2 separate regions of the Homo sapiens genome follow, and region 2 is linked to region 1. Evidence: promoter capture Hi-C in human tissues and cell types (Jung and others, 2019). All regions are on one chromosome and are shown on one strand. Each heading gives the region's core, a stretch centred on a gene start or on the middle of the fragment in contact. The rest is flanking DNA. Distances are from core to core; before and after follow the strand shown. Region 1 holds the start of WDR49 (WD repeat domain 49). Region 2 overlaps WDR49 (WD repeat domain 49).

The links. Contacts are between HindIII fragments. The study calls those that stand out against the background at their distance.
Region 2: a fragment that was not itself captured here is called in contact with the fragment with the promoter of WDR49 in region 1 in 2 of the 25 tissues and cell types used here (aorta and hippocampus).

The regions. Positions count from the first base shown.
Region 1 is chr3:167,651,879-167,656,775 of GRCh38, forward strand. WDR49 (WD repeat domain 49) reads right to left here and starts at 2,064. Exons shown (of 19, transcript NM_001366157.1): 1 at 1,956-2,064; 2 at 1,383-1,621. The coding sequence starts at 1,547. RefSeq lists enhancers at 1,278-1,801, 1,802-2,324. The HindIII fragment of the contact is 2,457 bases long and covers 1,614-4,070 here.
Region 2 is chr3:167,572,243-167,577,139 of GRCh38, forward strand. It overlaps WDR49 (WD repeat domain 49), which reads right to left. Exons shown (of 19, transcript NM_001366157.1): 8 at 3,676-3,909. Among named protein-coding and RNA genes, the nearest start is that of WDR49, 79 kb to the right of the region's middle. The HindIII fragment of the contact is 4,395 bases long and covers 753-4,897 here.

The DNA.
Region 1 (4,897 bases), core at 814-3,313:
ACCAACACATCAACTTTATAATGTAGACTCTCCTAATAGGCCCTAGCATTCAAATTCTTTGTGTTCTTAGCACCGGAACAAAACTGCCACATTTCTGTTCACTATAGAGTCAAAGCTGTCATAATCTGCTGTTATGTTTTACTGAATGTCCTCAAGCTGTCAAAATGTTTGCTATGTCTATCAAAATATGCTAAATTTACTTGGGGCACTGGGCATGAGCAGCAGCAGTGAAATCTTTCAGACAAATGAGGTTGGTTGAATAGCAAATATATGAAGGTTGAAATGAGAAAAGTGTAGGACAGAGCATGTCTTGCTACTAAATATGATAAGTTCTATTATAAAGAAATGATTGATACTATTGGGACATTAATTTATCAATACAGGTGGAACCCAACTTGTTATATTCTTTTGTGGATATCCAAAGATAAAAATGTGTGCCTATTACAGGCTAATATATTGTGAGCTTTTATTATATTTTATTAATTTCCAGGTGGTATTCCAAAATATTTTCTATTTCAAATTAGTATGGATACTCCAAGCACCCACGGACAATCTTAAGAAGGCCCTAGATCATACTTTAGTAAACATAATATAGTAGAAATGTTGGAGGCTCATGACTACCTAAATTCTACGTCATGGAAGAGCACTTCTTTCTACCCATATTTGAAACTAAAAACCACTTTGATGTATGCTGTTCATTATGCATAGCTGCAGAATTCAAAATTCATTGACTAAGAGAGAAGAAAATTATTCATTTACAGTTAAATTCCTATGGTTTATTTTTTATGCAGAGTTAAAATGAAAAATTCTAATTTTGTTTTTATTGGCATTGTTCCAGGATTTACAAAATGAGTGGGAGACTCGTCCCTCATAAGGGATCTTGGGACAACAAAGTGCCAGAATCAGCTTAGAAAAGGAGCTGTGCCACTTAGGGTGAGTGAGACAGGAGGAAATTTTTTGCAAACTGGGTATGCATATTTGCATTTGCTGAGTTCTATGTCCGTATTAAATGCAAGAACAATTATTCCTGGAGGTCACCTTAGAGATCTGGCTTTCTTCACTCACAGCCATAATTTTTTGTTTCCCCAAAATATGTTGATCTCTAAGAAAAAAATTTTTTCCAACAATAAATAGTTCTTTCTTGATAGTAATGAAATTCAGTGAAGCAATTTCAAACTAAAGAATATTATTTGGCCCAAAGAACTGAGGGGCAAAGCTACCAAGCACATTGTGTTAAATCCAGGCCTAACCAATTATTTTTAATTCTCTGCTATAACAATTAAGTGTATTTTTTTAATGCTTAAAGAAAAATATCTCTGTGTTTCATTCTAGGCTCCTTCATGAACAACTCAAACTATCTGGTCAATAAGCTTCACACTTACCTCAAAGGCCTTCTGTATTTTTACAAAGTCACCCACGCTGAGTTGGTTTTCAAGCAGGCCTGTGCCATAGTCTTCAAATGCAGTTACACCTTCTGTTCTCTCAGGACTCTTTGGCCCAAGCTGTGACCCTATGTTTAACTCAAGTACAGCTTTCTGGCAACTCATAATGGCTTCACCTTTTCTCAGTTGCCTTCAACTATTTCTATAAGGATGGATCTTCTTTTTCCTTCAACAGGTGCCTTTGAAAAGAAACTCAACTTAGCAACAGAATTCCAAAATGAAAGTACAAACCTTTCAAGGCATACGATCAGGAGGCAAAATGTTCAAGCTGAGGTAGGAAATGAAAGCCCTCAACCCTCTCACTTATTTGATTCTAGAGTTTATTTTCAAAATTTACAGTTGAATGCTTTTAAAATGGTATTTTTACCCCTTCCTTATACTCTGTTTAACCTGGCTTGATTAAAAATGTGTAAAGCTTTCCCCACATTTATAGTAACTGACACAGAAAACAACTTCCAATCCTCATTTTAAATGCATTAGAAAAGCACCTTCCCAAAAATCTCTTTAACTAACCTTGCTTCCATTAACATGTTGTAGTTTTCAATTCCACTTTCTTGTCTGGAAGAGTTAGATGACAAAGCTGCAGAGTTTCCCTACCAATGAAGTACTTGACTCTGAATGCCACCTTCCCAGCAATGTGGAGTTGTTTGTTTCATCTGTTCTGATCCTTTTGTATGTTTCCTGGCAACCAACACAAAGCCAACTAAAACTTTCCCTTTCACTTCCCCCTCTCCAACTGAAAGTTTAAATATATAATGTAAATGTTGAAATGGTTTTTTTTGAAATAAAAGGACAGTTCATTCCACTCATTTTTTATTAAACGACATCTTGTATTATTTAAAGACAACTTTTACCATTATATAGGATATATATTATGAAACTATATGATTAGTCAAAGAGAAAAGCATGAAATTCTGGAATTTTATGTTTTATACACAGAAAATGTTTTATTTTTATATAAAAGGAATCTGTTTCTTATATTCTTTTTGTCTTAGTTTCTATGTATATAAAATAGAGATGGTTCAAAAAAGCTTCCAACTTGTTGAAAATGTGATAAAAAAACACAGCATAACATAATATGATAAATCTAATGATAAAATTGCTTGCAGTGTCATTACTGGTTCAGCTAATAATAATGAAAAGGAGGAGAAAAAGAAGAAAAATTAACATTTTTTGAGTATTAACCATGTGCCAGGCACTAAAACTTTATGTTCATTGTCTTGTTTAAGCTTCACAACAATCCTACAAGGCAGATGTGATCATTATCCCCATTTTACTGATAAAGAAGCAAAAAGCCGGGCAAGGTGGCTCACGCCTGTAATCCCTGCACTTTGGGAGGCTGAGGCAGGTGGATGGCTTCAGCTCAGGAGTTCGAGAGCAGCCTGGGCAACATGACGAGACATTGTATCTAGTAAAAATACAAAAATAATCAGCCGAGCATGGTGGCGCACACCTGTGATCCCAGCTACTCGGGAGGCTGAGTTAGAAGGATCCCTTGAACCTGGGGGGCAGAGGTTGCAGTGAGCCAAGATTGTGCCACTGCACTCCAGCCTGGGCAACAGAATGAGACCCTGTCTCAAAAAAGAAAAAAAAAAAAAGCAAAGAAAATGCCAAAGGTCACACAAATAGTAACATACGGAAGAGAACAGAATGGCTCCCAAACTTCAGATACTGCATGTATTAGTCTGTTTTCACACTGCTAATGAAGACATACCTGAGACTGGGTAATTTATAAAGGAAAGAGGTTTAATTGACTCATAATTTCACATGGCTGGGGAGGCCTCAAAATCATGACAGAAAGCTAATGAGGGCAAAGTCATGACTTACATGGCAGTAGGCAAGACAGCATGTGCAGGGTAACTCCCATTTATAAAACCATCAGATCTCATGAGACTTATTCACTACCAGGAGAACAGTATGGGGAAACCGCCCCCTTGAGTCAATTATCTCCACCTGGCCACGCCCTTGTCATGTGAGGATTATTACAATTCAAGGTGAGATTTGGGTGGGGACACTGCCCAACTGTATCACTGCACTTTAGATGGATGTGCCCGTTGCACTTTATTTTCACTTCTGTAAACTAAAAAGTTGGCATTACATCTTCTCTAGGGTCTCTTCCGGCTCTAACATTCTCTGAGCTGGTGTTCACTAGAGGCATGGTACAGAACAGAGAGAAGAGCATCCTGTAGGAGTTCCTGTACCCATTATAGAAAAAAATGAAGTTTCATTCATGCTTTCATTTTTTCATCCATCTCTCATTATTCTTTCAAAAAAAACATTTATTAAGAGCCTAATAGGCAGGGCACGGTGGCTCATGCCTGTAATTCCATATTTTGGGAAGCCAAGACAGGCAGATCACTTGAGGTCAGGAGTTCAAGACCAGCCTGGCCAACATGGAGGAACCCCGTCTCTACTAAAAATATAAAAATTAGCTGGGCATGGTGGCAGGCGCCTGTAATCCCAGCTACTTGGGAGGCTGAGGCAGGAGAATCGCTTGAACCTGGGAGGCGGAGGTTGCAGTGAGCCAAGATCACGCCACTGCCCTCCAGCCTGAGTGACAGAGATAGACACTGTCTCTCTCTCTCTCTCTATCTCTCTCTCTCTCTATATATATATATGCCTAATATATGTCAAGTCCTGAATTGTGACCTGGTGCCTGCCATAAGGGCTTTACAGTCTAGTCAGGGCAATTATCCGTCTAGCTCATCTTTAATGCCAATTCCAACCTCTTGTGTTCAGTGTTCCAACACAGTGCTGTGTTCAGAGCATTCTGAAGCCATAGCTAGGCTCAAAGGGAAAGAGTGGCATTATAGATGTGTATATATGTATTGATATGTATCACACACACAGAACGGGGGTGTATTTACCAGATTTGCTTTTCTTCGATAAGTCCTTCTTGTAAGTTAGGAAAACATTTTTAAGCCCTAATACTACAAGTTCCCCTAAGTTATCTTACATGGGAACACGATTTGTCTTCTTATCACCCTAGTTAGTAAGTTAATAATACTTTAAATCAGCTGGATCAGCCCCATAAATGTTTGTAAAATGTTTTATAGTGATATTCTAGAGAGTTGGGCTTAGTTCAGTAGCAGACACTAATGAGGGAAGGGAGAAGAAATAGGAAAAACATTCTGTAAAGATGAACCACGAGAGGTAGGTATCCCACTGGCTGACAATGCAAAATTCTCTAATTATTCTAAGACAGACAAGATGCCTGGCCTACTTAGCTTCCATAAAGTTGCAGCCCTAAATGTTTTCATTAGTCAAAACAGGAAAGTATAATGAGCAGCTAACAAATTACAGTAGAAGTTAATCAATTGACACAGTTTTCTTGCTATAAAATTATGACATTAGAAATAATTCTTGATCATAAAGGCTTAAATGGCTCTAACCTTCTCTGTAACTGTGTGGTTAATTTTCAGGTTAAATTCCTGCGGCACTGTAAAATCCATAAC
Region 2 (4,897 bases), core at 1,700-4,199, 79 kb before region 1:
AGTATATGATTTCCTTTAAAAGGCTTTGCATGGCTTAACATCACTTTCCCAGACTAGGATTCAAGGGTATCAAAAGACAGGAAGATAAATAAAAGTCACGGAAATGTTCCAAGCTGCTTTTATATAGGAATTATATTGGGTCCCCACTGAAGTCCAAATACAAGGAAATAATAAAGTGTAGGCAACATGTTGAAATAACAACACAAGGGAAGGTTTTCATTAAATTCAAGCAAAGGGAAAATGTTCAAGAAAGACACCAAGCCAAATAACCAAAGATCAAGAGACCATGGGCTGAAAAAGCATTGCTTTCTGTTACACTTGGGATGAAAAATGGCAATAATTTATTATGTCTAGTAGTCGAGCATTCATTTTGTGCTCAGAACAGTGTTAGGAGCTGTGGGAAAATACAAAAATGGAACAAAAGGATCTTCCCCTCACACCAAAAACATAGGAAGAGAGAGAAATAAGTTTAGTTAAGTGTTTTACTGGGAAAACAACTAAAAAATGCGACCAATGCTCAGGAAGAGGAGAAGTAAGTGTGGGTTGAGATGGCTCTGGAGACTTCAGGGAGCTGAGGACCAAAGCTGAGTCTTGCCACTAAATGTTTACAAGACGAAACTGCAATGGCGAAGAAGAGAAGGAGGAGGATAAACAACTTTCCCACCTCAAGGGACATTCCTGAGGAGAAGCAGAGGTAGGGAAAAACTGCAGTTCAGGGTACCCTCCCCTTTCTAATTCTTCCTAACATTTGTCATCACATGCCACATTGTTAAAATAAAGATTAAGGAATCTTAAGAAGTTAATAAGAAAAGGAGATGTCATAAAGCAGCAACATTCGCCCTCTTTGGTATGGGGGACTTTAAAGACCCTTACAGGGCTGGCAGCATGGGAGACAAGAGGACACTTCCAAGATTTCAGTCCTAACAAGGCAATGCCAGGGAGGCACGTGCTATTCCCATTACTATTCCTACACCCCCACAGACACACACATTTTAAGAAGCTGGCAAACTAAAGCTCAGACAGGCTAAGCAGTCTGTCCAGTATTTGAATTCACATGTTTCCAACCCAGCAGTTCTGAAAACTTTTGGTCTTGGGATTCCTTTGCATTCTTAAAAAGTATTGAAGAATCCAAATAGCTTTATGTGGAATACACACACACACACACACACACACACACACACACACACAACACAAATAGATAGATCTGTATTTTTATACTTATTTACCATATTAGATATTTATAGGGAGACATTAAAACACAAGAATATAAGAGCACACATTCCCTTAGCCATAAGAACAATGCTGTTATCACACAACACACATCATGCAGCCTCTAGAAAACTCCACTGTACACTTTTGAGAGAGTGAAAGTTTAGAAAGCAAACAATAAATTAATATTATGATGAAAATAATTTTGACCTCCCAGATTCCCTGAGAGAATCTGAGTCTCCCAGAGGTCCAAGATCACACTGTGAAAAACATTGTTTTAATCTCAATTCTATGCTTTATGTTTCCAAGACCAGACAGTGATACATTCAACAAATGGCCGTCAATATGCTCCTAAGATCCCTTTACTGCTTTAACTCCCACGATGTCTGCAAAGTATTCCCAAACTTGCCACACCAAAATAAACCCTCTCTCCAAAAATGCACCGTGAGTGCTCAAGCTTCTTTGCAGGTGCTCACGTTGTATCTTCTGTCTGGAACTACTTCCTCCTCCTTTTAGAGATGTTAGCTTTCAGGGCTCTGCTGAAATGTGACCAACACTGGCCTCAGGCAGAATTGATCACTCTCCATAAAAAGCACTTCGGTTTTTACCTCTACTTCATTTTACTATGTTCTACTGTTTCTTGTTAGTAATATGTCTCCCTTCCCTTCTTTCATTCCACAATCCTGTGATGAGCACCTGTCCAACAATCATCAGCACTATGGTTAGGACCCAGATTTTCCCTTAAAGAGTTGAATCTTCCTGAGCTACTGGGGGCAAGAAACTATAGTTTATTATCTCTAATTCTTCATTCTTGGTACGACACTTGTTCAAAACTGTGTTATTTGCTTTGTCTAATTACTCTAAAATGATAAGTTATCACTGACTGATGGGAATGTGAGTGATATTTTCTTTGTACTTTTCTGCAATACATTTTTATAATTATAAATGTAACACATACAATGTTCATGTTTCTGTAACTCAGCAGCTAATAGGAAATGCTGATGTATGTGATACACAGCTCTATGTGCTTTACATACATATCAATGCTTATCATTATTTATGTTATTCACAGCAAGTAGAGGTGTAAATACTCAACTCAATTGTATAATGATACATCCTACATCATATACCATATGTACATTGTCCTTTGGTTGCCTATAAGTGGCATGCATGTGAGTTACCTTGGCTTTGTCTTTATGCCCCAAATAAATCCAGATCTTCTTTGTGTCTAATTTCCTGAATTTCTCAGGGAATATTGCTCATCTTATGGCCAGGCAACATAGGATTTTAACATCTACACACAAATTTAGCATTTTAACTTTGCAGATCTCAATTAGGAGAATGTTCTCTTGGAAGCAAATACATCTCTCAGTGGCCACCAGGGAGTCAAATTAACTGGTTGCCTTCATAAAGATCAGTAAAACATTTAGCAGGAAATGTTTTCCCGCAGATGGAATTCAAAATGAGTTGTTTTCTAAATGATTTTATCTCCTAGAATAACCAGAAAACAGTGTTTTAAATAGTGACACGACACACTACCCATTACTAACAAAGGGCTTTCCACCCCTTGCGCAAAATCTCCACTAGTCATTTCTATGTGAATGCAGAAGCTTCTGCAGAAGGGAAAAGAAAGAATGGATTGAGTTACTGTTTAATTGGCTGTAAGCTGGAGACTTGCTTCTGCTTGGCTCCTGCTGTGCTGTTACCATCAGGCCTGACGGGATCACTGCAGCAGGCTAACCTCTGATGTTGCTTGCTCCCTTCATGATACCCACAGGCTGCCCCACACTGAGCTCACTGGCTTCACTGCCTGGGCCGCCCTGTCCTCCAAGAAGGGCTGTGGTCTGCGCAGTAACTCTGCTCCAGGGGAGCCCTGCTTCTTCATTGAGATGCAGGTAGTGGTCCCCTAAGCCAAGGCTGCGGAGCGTCATTAAACTGGTGGGGAGACAAACAACACTTGTGCTGCATACCAAGTGGCATCATGTTTAACTGAATCATTTTATTATGAATACATTCTGGGCTGCCACTGTGAACCACTGGTGTAAAATATGCTGGCAAAATGGATCTCTGCTAATTATGTTTCATGCATATTTCAGAACTTTCCACAGGGATACCGGAAGATGGTGTTCATAGAATTTTACAAGCAGGTTCACTTGCATTTGGCTCAAGACTAGCAGATAACAAAGATAAGTTCAATTATATTACAGGTTGTTTTGTTTTAGCTGGAATGCTGTAATTCCTTATAACTCTATCACTGCTCCTGTGGTCACTGGCTGAAAATGAAATCATTCTCCAAGTCCACCTGAATGTATATTATTGCAGAAAAGCACATGGCTATTAAATCATTTCTTCCCATATTTGCCTTTACTATATTTGTCTTTCATTTTACCTTAAACTGAATTAAGTAAATGAGCCTCTGGACTTGGAGATATGTTAGGAGAGTGAAAGAAAAGAAAGCATCATTACCTGCTTCAAGATAGAATTGTAAAGAACACAAGTGACTGCTTTCTCATGGCTTTTCACCCTCTTGCTGGCTTCACTTTTCATTGCCAACAATGCTAGCTGGTTATTAAACGAGATGAAAAGTCGTCCATGGGCTTCATCAAAGTGGAAGAGACATCTGAAGTCCTGACTTTTGGGGAAAGAACAAGCTATCCTCTGGATGGACAGCTGGTGTTGAATATCCCAGAGTCTCAAAACCTGGATGAAAAGTGATAAAATCATTTCAATATGTCAAAGATAATTGTAATCTTTTAGCCAATTTTTTTTCTAGCTCACCCTCAATACCAGGCAGACAGTTGTTTCCTCCACAGTGCTATAATTGGTTCTCAATTCTGCCATAGCACCTATTATTTTGTATTTCAGTCACCTGTTTAAATATCTCCTAAATTGTAAGCTCCTCTAGGAAAGGGGTTGGGTTCTATTTCAGTCCCTGGTATAAGGCTTGGCATTTAGTAAGTGTTTGTTGTAGGCAGAATAGTAGTCCCCCAAAGATGTCCATGTCCTAATTCCCAGAACCTGTGAATATGTTATCTTAGGTGGCAAAAGAGATTCTGCAGATATGACTAAATTAGGGACTTTGAGATGGTGAGATTGTCCTGGATTATTTGGGTGAGTCCAATCATAAGGGTCTTTAAATGTGAAAGAGGGAGGCAGAAAAATGATCAGAGTGGTGCAATATGAGGACTCTTCCTAGTCTTGCTGGCTTTGAAGAGGGCCATGATCCAAGGAAGCTTGAAAAGACAAAGGAATGGTTTCTCCCCCAGAGCCACCAGAAAGGATGAGACTCATGTCAAATTCCAACCTACAGAACACAAAATAAATTTGTGCTGTTTCAAGCTACTAAGTTTGTGCTCATGTATTACACTAGCAATAGAAAACTAATACAGTTCTCTCTCCGTCTGTCTATATATACATGTGTGTATACATATATATGTATATATGTGTGTGTAGATACATGTATCTATATATGTGTGGATAGATATATATGTATACATATGTATGTATGTGTATATATGTATATATGTATTTTTGGTAAAATAAAAGAAGTGGCATTAAATGAGGTCAAGTTCATATAACCACAGATATTAAATTCTTATTCAAACACCTTCAAGACACATAAATGACATGCATTTACCAATGGATAGTAGAGGGCAAACACTAAATCCTTGCTCAAGAAATAGGTTGC